Linked DNA regions of Homo sapiens: regions 1, 3 and 4 are each linked to region 2. The links are contacts of gene promoters, found by promoter capture Hi-C in blood cells and fetal thymus (Javierre and others, 2016). All regions are on one chromosome and are shown on one strand. Each heading gives the region's core, a stretch centred on a gene start or on the middle of the fragment in contact. The rest is flanking DNA. Distances are from core to core; before and after follow the strand shown. Region 1 overlaps PLEKHM3 (pleckstrin homology domain containing M3). Region 2 holds the start of METTL21A (methyltransferase 21A, HSPA lysine). Region 3 overlaps PLEKHM3 (pleckstrin homology domain containing M3). Region 4 overlaps PLEKHM3 (pleckstrin homology domain containing M3).

The links. The method cuts DNA at HindIII sites, captures the fragments that hold promoters and counts their contacts. A CHiCAGO score of 5 or more calls a contact.
Region 1: a fragment that was not itself captured here is called in contact with the fragment with the promoter of METTL21A in region 2 in 1 of 17 cell types (total B cells); the score reaches 5.4 in total B cells.
Region 3: a contact is called between a fragment that was not itself captured here and the fragment with the promoter of METTL21A in region 2, in 4 of 17 cell types (M2 macrophages, total CD8 T cells, M1 macrophages and 1 more). The highest score is 6.7, in M2 macrophages.
Region 4: a fragment that was not itself captured here is called in contact with the fragment with the promoter of METTL21A in region 2 in 1 of 17 cell types (total CD8 T cells); the score reaches 5.7 in total CD8 T cells.

Annotation. Positions count from the first base shown.
Region 1 is chr2:207,989,247-207,991,946 of GRCh38, forward strand. The region is part of intron 2 of PLEKHM3 (pleckstrin homology domain containing M3); the gene reads right to left. Among named protein-coding and RNA genes, the nearest start is that of PLEKHM3, 35 kb to the right of the region's middle. The HindIII fragment of the contact is 8,087 bases long and covers 1-2,700 here.
Region 2 is chr2:207,624,091-207,626,790 of GRCh38, forward strand. It overlaps METTL21A (methyltransferase 21A, HSPA lysine), which reads right to left and starts at 1,304. Exons shown (of 4, transcript NM_001127395.5): 1 at 972-1,304; 2 at 139-314. The coding sequence starts at 285. RefSeq lists a silencer at 900-1,499 and enhancers at 1,770-2,474, 2,475-2,700. The HindIII fragment of the contact is 10,824 bases long and covers 1-2,700 here.
Region 3 is chr2:208,008,279-208,010,978 of GRCh38, forward strand. The region is part of intron 1 of PLEKHM3 (pleckstrin homology domain containing M3); the gene reads right to left. Among named protein-coding and RNA genes, the nearest start is that of PLEKHM3, 16 kb to the right of the region's middle. The HindIII fragment of the contact is 554 bases long and covers 1,073-1,626 here.
Region 4 is chr2:207,964,734-207,967,433 of GRCh38, forward strand. All of the region lies in intron 3 of PLEKHM3 (pleckstrin homology domain containing M3), which reads right to left. Among named protein-coding and RNA genes, the nearest start is that of PLEKHM3, 59 kb to the right of the region's middle. The HindIII fragment of the contact is 1,861 bases long and covers 374-2,234 here.

The sequences.
Region 1 (2,700 bases), core at 120-2,619, 370 kb after region 2:
GAGAAAAGATGGGCCCCAAAGTATCTGCAATATGCAGCATAAAGTACTCAGAGCCTTCTAACACGCAAGAGAAGAAAGAGAGGGCTTTTGCCTGGGAAGTTCTTAAAAGTCTTGAGAAGGAGGTGGTATCTGAGGTAGACTTTGAAGACAGGATAGAATTGATATTCAGAGACGGCAGGAAGGGGTAAAGAGCATTCCAGATGGTGGGCCTTCACTTAGATTTTCCCTTTCCTTCATCCATTATCCTCCATCTATCCCCAATTACAGCCTTTCTTTTCCTTTTCACAAGTCCCACTTTCTCTTTATTGCCACTATCACACTAATCTGAGTCCTCAACACTAATCTGAGTCCTCATCACACATCATGACGCCTGGCAGACCTTCTGATTGGTTTCCATCCCTTAGTTCTTTCCACCTACCAATCATTCCATGCACTGTTGGGGCCTGAGGAGACCCACTGAAGAGCCTTCCTTTTCCTCACCCAACTTTTGAACCAATTGAGATAGACAGAGGGTGGTCAGATACATGGGGATCAAAACATCAGACAGTTGGAGGATGCAACTTAGTTGCGTAGCAGCAAATTGAACCCCAGGATTTCAGAGACTTACCTCTGAGTCACAAGCATCACTGGATAGCCAGAGGCCTCCCCTCCTGGGAAACTGCCCATGAAGGGCTGATGGCATGGAGGAGCAGATCTGGGGGAGCGGACCAGAATTAGTGCTCTTAGGACAGCAGCTGAATTACCTGGTTCCTCTCCTAAACTTGCCAATAAGTCACTCCTCCTTCTCATGGGTGGGGTGTGCAAAGGGATGGACGGAGGCCAAGAGTGCTATTCCAGCTGACGTCCCTTTACATGGACACATAAAGCCACTGAAAAGGAGGGTCCCTGCTACCCTATCACCACTTTCACCCCACCAACTTCCATATTTCTTATTAAATACCCTTTTAATCTTGAGTCTCAAGACATGTGTGGTTGCTTCTTGCCAAATATATCACAGTAAGTCTATTCATATGGCTTTGAAGGTCCTCCAAAGTCTCAGCTCACTACTCCAAAATGTACCCCTGTTCTAGGTTAGCCTCCTGACCATCTCATACATACGCTGTGTTCTTTCCACCTTGACTTTGTGCTCAATCCTCAAAGCTCAGCTGAAATAGCCTTTCCTCAATGAAGACTCCTCTGGCATTCTGAGTCACAATCATCACTCTTTTCTTTGCATTCCTGGTTAATAAAATACAGTTTTCCAAGTCAATTTGTTTCATATTATAGTACTCGACTATGTTCAAGCCAGAAACAAACGGAAAAAATGAACTAATTTTAGGTCTTTGTTCTCCTCATTACAGGCACATCGGGGCACACTAATCATGACACTGCCACACATGTCCATAGCAAAGAACATGAAGAGAGTGATACTACAGGAATCAAAGCTGGACTGTGTCTTGCACATATTTAATATGCTCCACAGGCCCTCGTACAGTGTTGGCCAGTGGAGTACACAGATGGTATTCCACAGATATTTTTATTAACAAATTTGTTCTGGTAGAAATGAACTAGTCTTTTCTATGGCTACTTTGGAGACTTTCTTTTTGGGTAAAAAGAGGATATTCCATTCATTTTCCCTTCATAAACCTAGGAAAAAGATTACCTATGTCAGCTCTAGTGGAAACAGACCTGTAACATATCTGGCTACATATTAACATTAACTAGATATACCAGTTTAGGGATCTCTTCCATCCAGTTCTTTGCTATGGGCAACAGTGATAGAGCATAAGTCAATACATTCCTGGCCAATTTTTCTCAAGTGTGAACCTGACTAGGAGATCACAGATCCAACTTTTTAAAAGCAGAGATTTTCTGTCTTCTGTGATGAGGGCAAGCCTTAGCCTCTGTTGAGGTTTTGGACCCAGGAAACAATTCCAAACATCACCTTTCAAACCATGCTTATTCTTTGCCATGGTGAGCTTTTGGCTCTATATATCTAATCTATAGGAATTAAATATAAAAGACCCTCCCATACTTAGGCTGCTGGATTTTAGGCATAAATGGCATTCCATTACAATTTCTTGATGCAGCCTACAGAATTATAGAGACTTAGAGCTGGAAGAGATCCTAGAAATCCCACTAGCACATCCACATGTAAGGCAAAACCTATCAGCTGCCTTCATTAACAGAACCCTAATTTTGTTCAGGTATGGGGGCAATATGCTCAGGAAAGATGGCCTCTCCCCTGCCCTGTAAAAAGAATAATAATTTGTTTAATCCAATCACAGTAATCCTATTTTCCTTTGCCAGAGATTGCCTTAGGGGTGGACATGTGACCCAGTTCTGGCCAAGGAGCGGGTGCTATTGGGAGCCTCTGGAAAAAAAGACCCAGAAGAGATGCCCTGCTCTCTCTCTTCCTGGTTTTTACTGTTGGTATTTAAGAAAATGATCCTAACACATTTGGGAAGTTAGGAAAATGTTTTTTAAAATGATCCTTGGGGCAGCTGTAGCCACTTTGTACCAATGATGGGAGAGAAGAGAAATCACCAATATACCAAGGAAAACAAAGCAAAAAGATGGAAAGCCTGTAGGTCCTGGATGACCCCAAGACCACCTACCCCTGGGTATCCTGTGAAGTGTTTATTGCATAAGTCCTCGACATTCACTAAGTGCTCAATAGTTATCTGTCAGATAAAAGAAAAATTACAGTGATATTTTGGC
Region 2 (2,700 bases), core at 54-2,553:
ACTGAATTGTGCACTTTAAATAGGTAAAGTGTATGCTATGTGAATTATATCTCAATAAAGCTGTTCTAAAAAAAATAAAAAATAAAAGCCAGTCTTGCAAGTGTGAACGTTTTCAGAGGTCCCCCAGGGCTTACTTACCGCATCCCAAACCACCGCTGCGACTCCCAGGTGTCTCCAGTCCTGCCGGATCTGGATCGTGTGGTTTGCAAAGGAAAAAGTTGCAAGAGGCTTGTGGAATTTCTGCAACCCAAATTCCGTGGTCTCCTCATAGGGCACGAGGGCCATTCCGCCTGCACCCCGCCCTCTGCTCAGACCTGCCGTGCAAAAGAATCCTGGGTGACGCTCTGGCCAAAAGATACATTATCTGTTCTTAACTAACTCCAAATGCTTTTAAGGTCGTTTACAAGTTCAAAAGAAAAAAAGAAACAGGTGGAGGAAGCCTTTGTCCAATTTCTTTTGCATGGCTCTTCCGAATCTGAGTGAGATTTGGCTCGGAATTTGTGTCAACGGATGTGTTTGGGGAAGAAGAAAAAAAAAGCCCAGAACATTCCAACTTCCGCAGAATACCCTATACACTGCACTGCTACCACTCCGTGAATTCAGAACTACACAAGCGGCGGAAGCGGCGGTGATCGCCCAGGGCCCCAGAGCAGCGCGGAAAGCAGCGCTTCCAACCCAGACCCGGGCGCCCGGACTGCAGCTGCAGCCAGCCGGGCGGCCCGGGTTCTTTCGCTACGGTTTCGCTACCCACCTCCCCTCCTCCATCGGCTGCTTCGATAGTGATAACAATGGGACAGAACCTGCCCTTAGACTGGGTGTTAGCGGTTTGATAAACCAGAAATACATGGTCGCCGCAGTTCCGTCTCCCCGACCCTGGAAGTGAGCGACACTGGGGGCCTCCAAGCGGCTCGCGGGGACAGCGGGGACTCGGAGGCCTCCCCGAACTCCCCCTATAGCTGCCCCCCACTCACCCCTCTCCCGGGACGACCAGTGCGCCCTTCCTGCCCGGGGGCCCCGGAGCTGCGGCAACCCTCCAGGGGTGAGAGGGAGACCAGGCGAGGGGGGTCACAGGGCCTCTTAGGATCCCCAGGCCATACGGGGCGCCGTGAGCTGCCCGGCGGAGCACCCAGGGCTCGCCCAGGCCGGGCTGAGGCGCCGCCACGCCGGTACTTACGGCCCGGGAGGCGGTCCCGCGTGGAGCGCGCGCTCCGCTTTCCCCGCCCCGGGCTGGCTGCGAAAACCGCCGGCCTTAAAGAGCCCGCGACGCGGGGGCGGGCGGCCCCGGCCCGGAGCCACGCATTTCCGGTCTCCCGGCACCCAGCCTCCGGCAGGTGCCCCCGGAGCTCACGGCGAGGGCGGGGCCGGGCCGTGGCGCGGTGGAGGAGTGACGTTGCGGGAGGGGGGACCGGGGCTTTCCCTCGTGCGTCCCCAGGGTACACGGACGACTTAATCCGTTTCCCCCGCCGCCGAGGGAGGCGCTGTGGGGGCGGGAGCAAGAGTGAGATCGGGGTGCCGAACTGCCGCGGGTGCACAGGGAGAGCATGGGGTGCCCTGGGCTCTCCTAGCGGGAGAGAAAAGCCACCCACCTGGCGCTGAATGTGCCTCTCGACCTTTTCTATCATGTGCTCCGCCGCTCTCTGCCTCTGACTTTGTCGCTTGCGCGTTGTGCCTGTTTTTTAAAGGTGGCGCGTTAGCGGATGATGGAGACAGCTCGCTCCGAAGAAGGCATGGTCACTCTAGTCCCCGCGTCTCCACGGTGGGGTCAGAAGCGGCGTAATAGCCCGCTTGGCGGCAATCGAGTGGAAAAGTCACAAAACCCTTTTCAACTAAAGCACAGTGGGGGAAGTGAACACGTGGCGCCCGAGTCCAAGTTTTTAAAGTGGGGCGGGGGTCGGCGGGCTCTGGCTGCAGTCGGAAGCGCGGAGCTCTGGGCGTGCGCTCGGCTCCAGCCCCGGCCCCAGGCGGCGCTGCAGACTCCAGTGCCCCAGTCTCCCTCCTCCCGATGCCAAGACGCACCTGCCCGTGAGGACCCACGCTGGACGTGGAAGGTGCCGAGGGCCTGGTACCCTGGCCGCAGGCCCTGGCAGAGCGCGCGGCTGGAGTGGGTCCATTGAGTGGGACCGTGCGGGGACCGGCATCCTCCCGGGGCAGGCTTCTTTTTCCTCCTGGGGCCCCTCGCCCCACACCGCCCGCTGCGCTCTCAGCGCGGCTGCACGTTAGAACCAGCTGGGGTAAACCTCCCTTACCAGTCCCCCGCCCCAAGAGCTGGCCATGGGAGGGGGCCCGAGCGCTGATTTTTTTGTTTGGTTTTTTGCTTTTGTTTTTGTTTTTGTTTTTGTTTTGAGACGGAGTCTCTCTCTGTCGCCCAGGCTGGAGTGCAAGGGCGCGAACTCGGCTCACTGCAGTCTCCGCCTTCCGGGTTCAAGCGATTCTCCTGCCTCATTCTCCCGTGTAGCTAGGATTACAGGCCTGCGCCAGCACGCCAGCTAATTTTTGTGGGATTTTGTTTGTTTGTTTGAGACGGAGTCTTGCTCTGTCGCCAGGCTGGAGTGCAGTGGCGCGATCTCGGCTCACTGCAGCCTCCACCTCCCGGGTTCAAGCAGTTCTCCTGCCTCAGCCTCCAAAGTAGCTGGAATTACAGGCGCCCGCCGCCACACCCGGCTTTTTTTGTGTTTTTAGTAGAGACGGGGCTTCACCATG
Region 3 (2,700 bases), core at 100-2,599, 380 kb after region 2:
CCAGTTCTAAAAGTAATAAATACTTGTAGAAACTCTGGTAAATAGTGACAGATATGGAAAAGAAAATAAAAATCAGTCATGATCTCATAACTCAGTGAAAATAAATAGGTGTACTTTTATCCAATATTTAATTGGAATCAAAACTATATACACAGTTTGGGCACACTGTTTGTTTAAATGTATGCTCCAAAAAAATCAAATACCAGTAAATACTAACCTTGCCAAAAAAAAAAAAAAAAAAAAAAAACAGACAAAAAAAAATGTCCCAGGGAGTGCTGTGCCTACTTATACCTTACAACCTGACACAAGACCCCACTCAATTGAACTTCTCTTCTATAGCCACCAAGGGACCTCCTTGTTACACAGCCATTAGTGTTTCCCAAAGTCCTTAAATTCCTTGTGCTGTTAACCAGCCCCTCCTTAAAAGTTTCCTCCCAGGGTTTTGTGGGTACCACATTCACTGAAGTTTTCTTCTCATTTCTACCCACTTAGTCTCCATCTTCTTCCTTCCCTTCCTGGTCAAATAGGGGTGTTGTCTGAGCTCTCTTCTCTGGCTAGAGCTACATGATGTTCTCCTTAAATCAAGTTATCCACACGTGCAACTCCAATAACTTCTTCTATATTCACGCTGTTCAAATTTCTACCTTCAGTCTCAATCTCAGAATTGACTTCTGGTCCTATGTTCCCAGCTATTTGTAAGACATTTCTACCTGGCTTACTAAGCTCCATTTGTCTAAAATTACACTCAGTTATTTATTCAGTAAGTATTTGCTGAGTGCCTACTATGGGGGGGACACTGTTCTGGGCACCAGGGAAACCCTTCGACGAAGCTCCCATTGACAACAAGGTTCAACTCTTTAACCTGACATTCTAGGCCTTTCACAATCTTGGGCTAGTTTGCCATTCCAACTTTCTACTTCAATTCACACACTCTTTACCTCCAAACTGAATGCTATTGCTTTTCCAGTTATTTCAGGAAAGGCTTGCAGTTATCTCTGAAATACCCTCTTCCCACCTCAACCTACTGAAATTCTATTCTTCAAGGCCCAGCTCAAATGCCACCTCTTCCGCAAGCTTTTTTGGGTCCCTGATCCTAAAATGGTCTGTTCTTTCTTTAAACTGCCACTGAATATCTTTGGTACCTCCCCCACAACATATACTATATGCTGCATGTTCCTTCTCAAATGACGATGACAATAATTACAGGTTATCAAAAGCCTATTTTGTGCCAGGTATGTCGCTTGGTATTTCATATCTCTAAGCCCCAAAATGTACAATGTGAGTACTATTACCCTCATTTTACGAATGAGGAAGCTCAATGATATCAAGTAACTTACCTGATATCAAGTAACACGCCTACCTACTGGACTTAGAGGAACTTGAAAGCAGCAATTCTGCCCTCTTCCATTTGTGTAACTCTCACTGGGCCTAGAACTGTGGTTAGTACACAGTGGGTACTCAGTAAGCATTTGCCAAATGAATAACTGAATAAACAGTATATTTTCAAGCCACTGACATCTGTAAGTATATATACCACTCTAGTTTCCTGGCAAAATTATATTTGAATTCCTTATAGGCTCATTTCAGTAAAATTTGACATACTTTCCGAAACGTTATGTTGACTCAAGCTTTTACATTTTTTTCTTGGTAGAAAAGTCTTCCTAACTATTAAAACCTGGGTTTAAAAAATAATATGGCAAAGATCAGGTAGCAAAAACCTCACTCAGACCTTTTATAGAAACCAAAGCACCTATGCATTACTTAGGAATTGTCCTGTGAACCACTACACTATCAGCAACTTGGCTGGGTTCATTTTCCAATGACTTAGAGCTCAAGCTCTTTACAACACCAGTAATGAGATGTTCCCTTTGAAGTAGTCCCAACAATCCATTTAAAGCATTTTTCAGTACATCTCTGCACATGTTTATTGTTTGCCACCTGCAAAATCATTGAGACATTTGCTGCCTCAGAAACCTAACTAAATATAAGCATGGCACTTTAAATCTCAGATTGCTTTGCGACTGAAGGCAGCAGTGTTACTGCACCTTTATGTGAAATTGGAAAACCAAAATGGCCCATTTTCATAAAACCACCAGAGATCCAATATGTCTTGCTCTTAGAAACAAAGCAGGAAGACACAAACTTCAGTTACGAAATGTCTAAAAATGCAGACTTGATGTTTTCCATCTCCCTTTGCCTCCATGGCAGAGAACACTGACTAGAAAACAAACAAAAGAACCACTTGAATTAGCTTTATCTTGGGACTGAGAGGAAGAAGGCAAAAACTTCCATGATAAAAACTTTATCAGCCTCCAACTGCAACAGGAGTCACAGGTGAGGTGCAAGTAGGTTCCATCAGGGCCAAGCCAGCTAGTGTGGCTGACTGCAACAGTGAATGTAACAAGGAAGTACAGTGAGACCAAATATGCAAGATACCCAGAAAGGGCTGGGGAAGTAGACTTAAAGATGTCATCAGTTTATATAACTATTTAGAATCTTCTACTTGAGCCTGAGTAATAGAGGCTGTGTTTCTAAATTCAATACAGGACTGTGTTTATCTAATTATCTCACAAAACTAAAACTGAGTTAATCTCAGGAAAAAATCACTTGGTTTTTACAGAAAATAATCATTTTTCACATGCATGGTTTAGAATAAAGTTTAAAGTGCTTGATAACAAATGGCCAATACATATATGAAAA
Region 4 (2,700 bases), core at 54-2,553, 340 kb after region 2:
AGGGAGGGAGTTTCACGCTCTTTGGGTTTTTATTACTGTAATTTAATTAAAACTTTTTTATGTTAACATATTTCAAGGTATAAAGATGGATAGCCATACATACAGGCATTTATCCTACTGCAAAATTAACCTGTACTTTACCCCCACACCTCAATTTCTGGGACTGTGTGTGGTCCAAGTTTGCTGAATGTACAAATGATTAGATGAAAATATTAATGCAAGAAATAAGTTGGTACTGCTATATTACTAGATTTCCTTACCTAGTGGATATATTTTAAAATGGCAAGTTTTTCACTTAAGTATGTTTCTGTCTTCAGGGAGTATAATAGATTTTAGAAACTCTCAAGTAGCTTTTATTCTTAGGTCCATGAAAAGCTTAGTTTTTCAAGGAACTTAGCTAGAAATTAAGGAGAATCTTAACCTGCCCAAGTTTATCTTAAAACTGTACCTACACCAGTTTCTCTCCCAGTGAAAGGTCAGTAAATAAAAACTTTGAAGTCAATGTGGAATCCAATGGTACATTAACACTCTCTTTAGAAGTTACGCCGGAAATGAACACATGATGAGAACAATGTTAACCAAAAAGGAAGCTACAAAAAGGGACAAGAACTTTCCAGACCAAAGTATAGCAACAAAGACTAGGAGAAATGAACGGCTTAAAAAAAAAAAAACGACAGCACAGCTATGGCCTATGAAGTTCAGGAAGGTCCATCAAAAGATCTATATCTTCTGAAATTCAAAATGATTTTATTCTTCTGAAACATATCAAAGACCAACATGTGACTTCTATGATGAGAATACCAGGAATAAATCAAAAAAGCAAATTTATATCCTATAAAATCAAAGGGCCTACTTATATAAAGTGATCAAATCTCTTTGAATTTTAGGATATGAAATAGTTTAAAACACAAATTATATAACATTCTTCTTCCATAGACTCGCATTACTGCTTTAGTATGTATTCATATTCTTCTTATACATTTATTTTTATTTAAAATTATTTCCTGGCCTAGAAACTTAAGACTGCAAAAAGTAAAGTAATTTATTTAATGATAGACATCAGAGCCAGGAAAAGAATTTCCATGTCCTGTCTCCTTAGTCAATTGATATTTCTACTAGTTTAAGTTCTCTTCCCCAAAGGAAAAACGTATTACTTATTAAATAAAGTTTAAATGAAGGACCACATTAATCTCATTTTCTCTAACCCTCTATAGACATTCAAAGGATCACAAAATGAGAGATAAAAGGAACCACACAGAGCAAAGTCAGTCCCTCTAAAATATGCCAGACAGAGGTGGAAGAGTTGGAAGGAAAGTCTAAGACCTTTGAGTTCAACTGTGTGTTATAATTACTTATTTATTTGTCTGGCTTCCAGTTTTCAAATTCTGTAAGGACACAAAATGAGACTGATTGCCTTGTTCACTCTGCAGAAAGCATAGTGCTTAGCACATAGTAAGGCTTCCATAAACATTTGCAGAAAGGCTGAATGAATAAATCTCTATCCTGCAGATGAGAAAATTCTAAATCAGACAAGTTAAATGACTTGTCTTAAGGTCAAAATTCCAGGCCTCTTGCCATTCTACTCATTTTCACCCATGGCCATCAAGTTTTCTTAAATAAGAAAAAATACAATCCACTCTGCATATTTTTGTTACCTTGGCCCAACAGGATTACACATAGTAACCCTCTTTTCTCCTCTAAGTGACAGCCTTCAAACATGAGGGGATAATACTTGTGTCTTCCCTATTCTAGGTTACATTGATTTGCATGCTACGGTTTTTAGCTCCTTCACTATCACACATCAATAGATGTGGATGAGTATTTTTTCTTTTTTTTTGAGACGGAGTCTCCCTCTGTCGCCCAGGCTGGAGTACAGTGGCTCAATCTTGGCTCGCTGCAACCTCCACCTCCCGGGTTCAAGAGGTTCTCCTACCTCAGCCTCCCGAGTAGCTGGGACTACAGGTGCCTGCCACCATGCCCGGCTAATTTTTTTTTATGTCTAGTAGAGATGGGGTTTCACCATGTTGGCCGGGCTGGTCTCGATCTCCTGACCTCGTGATCCACCCACCTCGGCCTCCCAAAGTGCTGGGATTACAGGCGTGAGCCACCCCGCACCCAGCCTAGGATGTGTATTCTTAAAGAACAGCATACATAACTGAAGTTTCCAGATATGGTCTGGCCAGGGCAGAGTGCAGCAAGAATATTACCTCTTCTTTATGGATCTGTTTTGTAAAAGCTTTCCTTTTCTTTCTTTTATTTTTATTTTTTTAGACAGGATCTCACTCTGTCACCCAGGCTGAAGTGCAGTGTCATGATTATAGCTCACCGCAGCCTGGAACTCCTGGGCTCAAATAATCCTTTTACCTCAGTCTCCTGCACAGCTGGGACTACTACAGGCATCAGCCACCAGGCTGGGCTATTTTTTTTATTTTTTATTTTTTGGTGGAGACAGGGTCTTGCTATGTTGCTCAGGCTGGTCTCAAACTCCTGGCCTCAGGCAATCCTCCCACTTCAGCCTCCCAAAATGCTGAGATTATTGACATGAGCTACTGCACCAATCTTGTAAATGGTTTTCATGTAGCCATAGCAACACAAATGCTGGCTTCACGGCTGCCTCATTTGTATGCCCACATGGGCTGCTGTTAGCTCAGGTTTTCTCTACCTTCTATCTTTGTGGTTAATTTTCTGAATATAAATAGA